2 separate regions of the Homo sapiens genome follow, and region 1 is linked to region 2. Evidence: promoter capture Hi-C in human tissues and cell types (Jung and others, 2019). All regions are on one chromosome and are shown on one strand. Each heading gives the region's core, a stretch centred on a gene start or on the middle of the fragment in contact. The rest is flanking DNA. Distances are from core to core; before and after follow the strand shown. Region 1 overlaps MAMDC2 (MAM domain containing 2). Region 2 holds the start of PTAR1 (protein prenyltransferase alpha subunit repeat containing 1).

Region 1 (4,313 bases), core at 1,048-3,547, 350 kb before region 2:
TGTTAAAGAGAGAACTCAGAGCCCCCATGCTCCATCCTCAACCACTGGCTGACAGGGAAGGACTCCAAGCAGACAGTGGGTATTGGAGAGTAAAGCATTTCAAGCCTTTCAAAGAAGTGGGATGGGATAGGAAATTGAAAGACGGATTAGGAATGGGGAATATTTTCATGATGGCTCCATTGTGTCCCCGATGAAATATTTTCAATAAACATCACACTTCATGGCCAGGTGTGTCTGGATCCCATCCTCCTTCCTTATCCAGTCCACACCCAGCTTCACCTTACATTCGCTACCTTCCTTTTCCAGGACTCCCAAAGGAACAACTTCCCTCTTTGAAAAGGAAATGGAACATGTCCTTTAAGTATCTTTTCTCTTTTAAAGTATTTTCACTTTCCTTTTATTATAATCTTTTGTTCAAAATTTGTAGCAAAGAAATGATTAAGAAGATAAACAAACACATAGCACACACAATTTAGAAGGATGAAATAAAATTATAGAAATGAGAATACTCCCTAAAGCCATAGAAAATCTATTTTCATTGAAGAGGTTGATTTAAGCCCCATTTAGATTTTTACAGAAGGCTCATTTAAATAGATGGGAAAGAAATCTGGGAAGAAGCTCTTTTAAGGAATAAACAAAATGTTAATTTCCATTGCTAATATTCTTCTATGGTATGTATCTTATGAAACATCACGTCATAATCCAGGAGATAACTAACCTCCATGTCAGAAGTTTTCATAAGATTTTAGAATAGTATAAAGCAAAGATAATAGGCCTTATATCTTTCTCCTAAACTCCACCTACCTTGAATTTCTTGGAACTGTTTTGCAAATCCAAGCTGGCTATGAGCCAGCTGTCTGAAGGTTCCTTAGCTGACCAAAGCAAGCGATCAAAGCTTTCATCTTCAAATCTCATGTAGAGGTTCAGCTGGCTGGGATCTGACAGAGACTCCGAAGATGTGGTTATCTGGTAGACCAAACGGAGGCAGCTCCATTCCTCAGCCTGTAAGTCAGGACTTAGCAGCACAGCTTTCTCCCCCTGCTTGCCAAAGGAGGTATCCACATAAATGTAATGGCCTGGAAAGAGAAAGGAACATAGGAAAAGGATCAATTTTTGTTTGCAACCTGGAAAAATACGTAACTGCAGTTAAGTAAATCTCTGGGCAGATAAACCTGCAGATATATTTTGTCAACCCACTGAAAGTTGCCTGAACACTGGATCACTGGCCTCTTTTGAAAAAATTACAAAGCACTGAGACCATGTTACCAGATGATGACAACAGGCTGGAGCTGAGTGGTGCTGCCTCTTCAGAGGGTGGCATGTGGTCTCCACTTTGCCATAATTGCCATCAGTCCCTCTTCACTCCTCACACTGAGTGTCTCTGCTTTTTATTCTTTTACACCAGGCCCATTTAGCACATTGCATTCATCTCCCTGGTCCCCATAGGCATATGTTTCTGCAGGCTGAGGGACATCAGAATCAGAAGAGCGGCATGACTGAAGTCAGAATAACTGGGTGGACTCAACCTTCTCCTTACATAGCTCTCCCCATTACCTAATGTTTCAATCTGCATTTAACTTGCATCATTATGTAGACTGAATTGATTTGGTTACCTAAGCCTGGATCTTGGGACCTAGGCAGAAAAAGTACATTGTAAGCTATTTTTTATTAAATTAGGAATAAGACTTCCTTCCCTTGACTCTTCCATGACCAAATTTCATAGTTCTGAGAAATAAATGAGGAAACACTTGCAAAACATGTAGCACAGGGCTGGGAAAGCACTGGACACTCTGGGACTAGCAATTGTCCTTCCTTCTCCTCTATCCTCACTTCTCCTTTCGGATTCCCTGTTTCCTCCTTTCTCCTTTTCCTCCTCTCTTCTGTCTTCTTATTCCCCTTTCCCCGTCCTTCTCCTCCTCCTTTCCTTTTCCTCTGTTCATTCTCCTTCCCTTCTCCCTCTACCCTCCTAATATCGACAAGTGCTTTCTGCTGGCTGTACAAGATATGAAAAGCATTTCTATAAAAGTTGGTGGGGCATTGAAGCCAAGAACCTTAACTCGAGCCTTCCAAACCCACCTCTGGCCATCTGGTTTCCTATGTCAATGATCCAATTGCCTGTGGGTCTTTGGGGACCTCCTGGGCCTTTCTGGCCTGCAGATTCTCATGCTTTCTCGGAGGGCCCCACATTCATGGCTGTCATTTAACCTGCTGTCTTTCGTCCTGTGGCTTCCACCACCCTGTGTCTGCACTTCGGTCTCCCTAACCCTAAACTCTTACGAGAAAGGATCTGAAAAGCCTCTTTGTTTTGCTTGATGTTCTTCAGCCTGTCCTCCCACGCTTGTTGTCTCAAATGCCCATCCCAGCCTGGATCCTTATATCCGTGGCGAGTACCGACAGGCTAACTGGAGCTCAGATGACGGCCATCCTCACATGAGGGACACAGTTAGGGCATTGTCTTCAGGGATCCTTTCTTGCCGACTGAAGGATTTCAAGATCAAGATCTAACTCTTCCTGGCAATCTTCTTAACATAGCAACCGCCCACTGGGTGCAGATAGCAATTGCTTCTAGATGCCAACCCAGGCACCCTTGTGGAGAAATCTGGCCCTTGCAGCAATTGCTGACACCATCATACCTCCCACGTACAGGCGACACTCACTGCAACTCAGGCCCAAGTGCTGTTCTAAGTGCTTCACGTGCATTTCCAAGGTGAAGGCCTTGTTGGGTTTGACTATTCTAAGCTGGGGCTCTTGAGGCCAACCCTTTTTGGATAAAAAGTGCTGCTTCTTGTGGCATGAGGAATGTATTAGCACCATCCTCTTTCCCCACTCTTTGCTACTGCCCCAAAAGAAGGGACTTCAAGCAGGCTGGATTGGGGGAGATCACGTGAGTACCTCAAACCTTTTCCGAAGAAGTAGAGAGTTGGACATGGAGTATAAAAGAGGAAAGAAACAAATAAAGACCTTGCTATGTCCTATCAACATTCATATCAAATACCAACTTTGCTGCCATGGGAGGCTCAATTTTCCCTGGGTACTTCCCCAGCCTCCCCTTTTCTCTCCCTCCCCTTTTCCTTTCCCCACTCCAGAAAGGGACAACTCAAAGCAATGCTCTTAAAGTTGAGCCCAGAGTCACCTGGATATCTTGTTCAAATACACATCCCCAGGCCCACCCCTTGAGTTTCCAATCCAGTAGAGCTGGGGTGATGCTGCATTTCTAACAGATTGCATTTCTTGGATGTTCCAGGTGATACTGTTGCTACTGGTCTTTGAGAACTGCTGACTTACAATGTATGGACAGGTAAATAGGGTTCATTCTCCAGCCACCTCTCATCTACCAAAGAAAGTGCAGGCTCCTGTAGCATGTAAAGGAGGTAGGCAACGGTTCTGCTGGAAGGTACAACTCGAATTTAAGTGAATGTGTGTTAAAGCAGGTGCACAGAGTCCATCTGCTGGTGATTATCTTGGCTTTTCAGTGAGTGCCATAAAAAAATTCTCTTGACATTCTCTCTCACCTGATCAGATTTTACTATAAGCTTATGCTAATGTTCTCTTGTCAAGAACCTTTGAGAGCACACACTATATAAAATGTACTATTTAAAATACCTAGATTTTATTCTGTGTGATGAAAGTCGGTGCTATTCATTGAGTGATTTTGACATCTTAGCCATAAATGTGGGTTATTTTAAAATATTGGAATTTTGCATTTAAATTAAAGATCTCATATTTGTTTTTAGGTCACGCCATGTGAACGTGCCTCTTAGCAGCATTACAGTCCATGCAAAGATGTATCTACCCAGCTGATTGGATGCAATCCACTCAGCAGAATGATGCATTTTCCTAGACCTAATCATTAGCCCAAGCACCGCCCACCTCCACTATCACTGCCAACTTCAAGACTAATTTTCTAAATTAATCACTACGTTTTCCAGGCCTGCTCTGGATACAGCCTTAGAATCCTTCTAAACATAGTGCTGCATGTAACCACTACCAATCAATCTGAGTTGGCACTTGAGTTGAAACTACTTGTTATCTCTGCTTGTGGCTTCAGTGTAGGGGTATATTTTGTGGTCACGTTATAGCTAAATTGAACTAGAAGGAACACGGTATATTTTGAAGAAGTTTTAGAAAATATAGGATGAGGAAGATATTAATGTCAAGGATGTTGCCTTTCCCTGCCTTGTCACTAAGAAAATTGCTATTCTAGAATAAATCTGTGAGTTCTTTTTACTTAAAAAGAATCATTTTACCACCGAGTGAATTAACGAAGTTTTCTTTGGGTGTAAAAAAATGTTTTATTTATTCCATCTTAATCA
Region 2 (4,613 bases), core at 79-2,578:
ACGCCATTCTCCTGCCTCAGCCTCCCGAGTAGCTGGGACTACAGGCGCCCGCCACCGCGCCCAGCTAATTTTTTGTATTTTTAGTAGAGACGGGGTTTCACCTTGTTAGCCAGGATGGTCTCGATCTCCTGACCTCATGATCCACCCGCCTCGGCCTCCCAAGGTGCTGGGATTACAGGCGTGAGCCACCGCGCCCGGCCTTTTTTTAAAGACGGAGTCTCGCTCTGTCGCCCAGGCTGGAGTGCAGTGGGGAGTAGCTGGGATTACAGGCGCCCGCCACCACGCCCGGCTTTTTTTTTTTTTTTTTTTTTTTTGTATTTTTAGTAGAGACGGGGTTTCACCGTGTTAGCCAGGATGGTCTCGATCTCCTGACCTTGTGATCCGCCCGCCTTGGCCCCCCAAAGTGCTGGGATTACAGGCGTGAGCCACCGCACCTGGCCAGATTTCAAGGGTGGAAGAATAAAACTGAACCAAGGGCAGCCAGATTTTTCTACCAGAGGTGCAAAAGAAAACCTGATACACAAAAATTTTAGTTATGGCATTTCAAAATCCTAAATAAACTAGAAAGCTCGTTTTTCCTACAAAAATTTATTTTTGCTATTATGAACAAACCCTGTCAGAGCCTTGATCCTTTTTTTTAAATTCCAAAATTGACGCAAAGGCTACCAAATGCAGTACAAAATGAAGTCGAAAAATCTAAAAACGATTTCACTTCTACTTCCTACATACAGATGGCAAATAACTTTTCCTTCACTTTCCTTTCTCTTCCTTTAATAAATTTAAGAATTTTAATTAATGTTTTTTAAAAAGGCTGCTTTCAAGTTCAGAGACAAAAATTGGCACAGTTAGAAAGGAGGTCACCAACACGGTCAAATAGGGACTCGCTCCGCCGCAATGCCTCTGGACCTCTTCATCTCTCAGGCTGGGAAAATAAAGCAGACAAGCTCTGAAAAACGCCCGGGACTAACTGTTAAGAGGCCCTGCATCCTCAGTTGAACATTCCTTCAGGAATGCCCGGGGACCTTGCTGGGGGGGTTCAGGAAGGTGTCTGACTCTCTGGGAGTGTGTCTTGAGGTTTCGCCTAAAACTTAAAATAAGAAAATCGGAGGCCTGAGAGAACTTTGCAAACAAATGTCCAGCATCTTCTCTGACGCTTAGAAAGTCCGTTACCCGCGCGGAGGCGAACTTCTCCACTCACTGGAAGGCCACCAACCCTAGCTAACGCCACGCCCAGGCCGCCAACTGGCTGACCCGGAAGTGCTCGGCGGCGGCCGCGGCGGCGGGGACGCGGCCTAGCCGAAGCACCCGCGCGCGCGCGCGCGCGCTCGTTCTCCGCGGAACTCCCGCCGGCGGCCCGGCTCACGCGGAGGCGCGCCCGAACTGTCGCGGCCGCCGCCAACATGGCCGAGACCAGCGAGGAGGTGGCGGTGCTGGTGCAGCGGGTTGTGAAGGACATCACTAACGCCTTCAGGAGGAACCCACACATGTGAGTCGCGCGCCTCCGCCGCCTCCGAGGGTCGTCGGGAGCGGGCGGGGGCGGGGCCAAGCGTCCACCCGACCTCGGGCGGCGGGCGGACAGCGGGTCCTGGCCCACGAGCCCTTCTAGGGAGGAGGCAGAGCCGTGTCGGGCGGGACCGTTGTCGGCCGCCGCTGGCCCGGCTTTCCGCTACCGGGACGCGCTCGCGGTCGAGTCCCTAGAAGTGACCTCAAAAAATCAAAACGGAACTACTTTCTCTGTCCCTCCCCACCTTTTCATAGGAGTTCACGAAACTCCAGAGACGTCCCCCGTAGGTCGACATCCTTCCTGTGTTTAAGGTACTCGGGCGCACACAACGATGTGGGTCCGTGTATGCCTTGTAAACACAACTCTTGAGATTCATCCCGGACGTTGGCAAGAGGGGGTAACCGATCCTCTTACTTTTAATGAGCCTCAAACCCCTCAGTTTACTAACTAAAGGTGGTTTGAGGCTGCTTTTGACTTTAGCCTTACTTGCCACAAAATTGTAAAGTGACTCCGATAATACATTGTGTTTTGAAAGGTGAACAGAACATTCTCAAGAGAAGCTTCTGTGGGCGCAGTGTGGAGTCTGGGATAAAGCAAATGAAACCTTGATACTTTTTAGCATAAGCGGATTCATAGTTACAAGGAGCATGTTAACTCATTTTTATCCCAACACTGCTGCCCTCTTTAACGGGACACTGCAGAACTGACATATGTATCTCTTCCATTTTACTTGAAGTACTGTGGGAAGATACCGCAAGAGTCTACTTTTTGTAACACTTTGCTTTTATGTAACAAGTGAAAAGAAAGCTATTGAGAGAGAGAGAGAGATCTACATTATACAAAGGTGTAGGGAAGAAGCAACAATGTACCTCCTTTCCCATACCTCTTCCTCCTCAAAGAAAAGAAACATGGCATCCAGTTCTGCATTACTTTCATTTTAGCTAGTTGTTTTTGGAGTTTATTTTTTTTTTTTTTAGTTTATTATTTTTTATTATTATTTAATTTATTTTTATTTTATTCTTTAGACTGGAGCTCATGATTTTTTTTTTTAAGTATTCTAACCGGTTCAGCTTTTCTGCCTAAAAAAGTTGCCAAACGTGTATCTTACCAAAGTGTTCTTTTCCTCCAAGGTGATGATTGTAAAACAGTTAAGAAGCCGTTGGATGTTTTGCTCCCTTGTGGCACACAATTGGAGACGTGCAACTGTGCCACATTAAAAACAAAACACTGCTGGCCTCAAAACACACCTGCCACCTCTGACAGCATCCACTTCCCTCCCCCTTATGACTGCTGCCTTTTTCAAAATGAGAGTGTTTGGAATGATTTCCTGGCAGTATCCATAGTGGTTGCTGAGCCTTCTAAAGAATGCTTTGATGCCTTGCTGTATATCAGTCTTTCGATTTCTTTTTGAGAATGGGAGCCTTAGTGCAAGTAAGAGACGACCTCAAAAAAAAAAAAAGTTGGACAAATGAAGAGTGTATTTTCTCATCACTGGTATTTTTCTAGAAGAAATTACAGCAGAGATTAGAAATCTAATACAAAATGTCGTAATCATCTTATGTTCTCTTCTTTGAGGTAGACTAAAAGAGCATCATTATATTTGAAGAAACCAAGATTGAATGTTCATTGGCTTGGCAGTTTTTAACACAGTGCAGTTTGGAACATGTCCCAGTTCTTGTGGATCACATTTATGGAAACTCTTAAAGGACTTTAATGCCCCTCCCTAATCCTTTTTCTACTGTAAAACCTCATTAATATATCCTCAATGTATAATTTATTAGTAATAAGGATTTGGGTCATTCGAGATTTAAAACTTTGAGATAAGTTGGATATTCGGAATAATGTAATGATTTGTAATATAGGTCTTAAACATTTAAATAGCTTAACTCATTGTTTAAGACTAGTCATCAGCTATATTTGAATACATATTCCCCACAGTAAAACTATTTTCAATAATATTACTATGCATCTTTGTAAGTGCCTTATAATTTGGGCTTTTAAAAATTGCCTGCGCTTTCTTCCCTTAATTTAGCCCATTTACTCCCAAAATAAAGAGGCTGTGTTTCTTTTTTTTTTTTTAAGGCATTGTTTATCTGTAACGTTTGTATCTAACTTTACTGTATCTAATTACACTTTCAGTATTATACAAAAATTTTTTTGTTTTTCTTGTCCAAACTTAAGATCGGTTGTAATTTTATTGGCCAACATCTACTTCATTAAATACATTGACTTTGTTTATGTAGAAATATTTAGCCAGAAGGAGTTGAGGATGCAGTGGTGAGATGTGGATTTTGTTACTGTATGATGTGAATAGGTACCTTCTCTCAGCCTCAGTTTCCTCTTGATCTTGTGAGGCTGATGAAAACAGGAAAATCACCTCACACAGTGGTACTTAGTTGCCACTCAATAAATATTAGACCTTCCCTGAATCTCTGTGTTCCTCACCAAAAATATATTGGACAAATGATTGGTGAATATGAAGCACTTTATAAACCTGGATAATACTATATAAATGCTGTTTGTATGGTTGAGTATTAGATAATCATATTGGATTCTCTAAAACTGAAAACTTGACCTAGGGATAGTCTTTAACTTAGTGTATGGACCCTGTGCTAATGTAGAAGACAACAGTTTATAATGTAAACAGTCACGTTAAAATTAATCTTATCCAGCAAGTTATTGTTTTTTCTATTAAATATTGAACTCACTGTTTATGAAGTGTTGTGGGTACCATCTTTACTGTGTGAAATAGAAGTTTAAAATACAGTTCTTGAACCCAAGGCACTAACAGAAATTTCTGTAATGGTGGAAATTTTCTGTGTCTGTGCTGTTCCATATGGTAGCCACTAGCCATAGTAGCTATTGAGCAATTGAAGTGTCCCTAATATGAACAGGGACCACATTTTAAATTTTATTTAATTTAAATGGATTTGTACGTAGTGGCTCCATGTGCCTAGTGACTACTGTGATGCATAGTGCAGGTGTAGATGAGACCTAAGACTAACTGCATGAACAGTAAATTAACCCTCCAAAGTAGTTTATAGTAAAAGTTGGATAGGAGCATGATGAGCAAGTGCTATGGGAGTCTAATAGAAGTGGAGAGGAGGCT

The links. The method cuts DNA at HindIII sites, captures the fragments that hold promoters and counts their contacts. A contact is called where the count stands out against the background at its distance.
Region 1: a fragment that was not itself captured here is called in contact with the fragment with the promoter of PTAR1 in region 2 in 1 of the 25 tissues and cell types used here (IMR-90 fibroblasts).

Annotation. Positions count from the first base shown.
Region 1 is chr9:70,104,974-70,109,286 of GRCh38, reverse strand. MAMDC2 (MAM domain containing 2) reads right to left here. Exons shown (of 14, transcript NM_153267.5): 3 at 805-1,076. Among named protein-coding and RNA genes, the nearest start is that of MAMDC2, 63 kb to the right of the region's middle. The HindIII fragment of the contact is 5,648 bases long and covers 1-4,313 here.
Region 2 is chr9:69,756,726-69,761,338 of GRCh38, reverse strand. It overlaps PTAR1 (protein prenyltransferase alpha subunit repeat containing 1), which reads left to right and starts at 1,328. Exons shown (of 8, transcript NM_001099666.2): 1 at 1,328-1,486. The coding sequence starts at 1,401. It overlaps LOC105376076 (a long non-coding RNA gene), which reads right to left and starts at 1,244. Exons shown (of 4, transcript XR_929910.3): 1 at 866-1,244. RefSeq lists enhancers at 1-306, 1,781-1,830 and a silencer at 1,171-1,640. The HindIII fragment of the contact is 12,775 bases long and covers 1-4,613 here.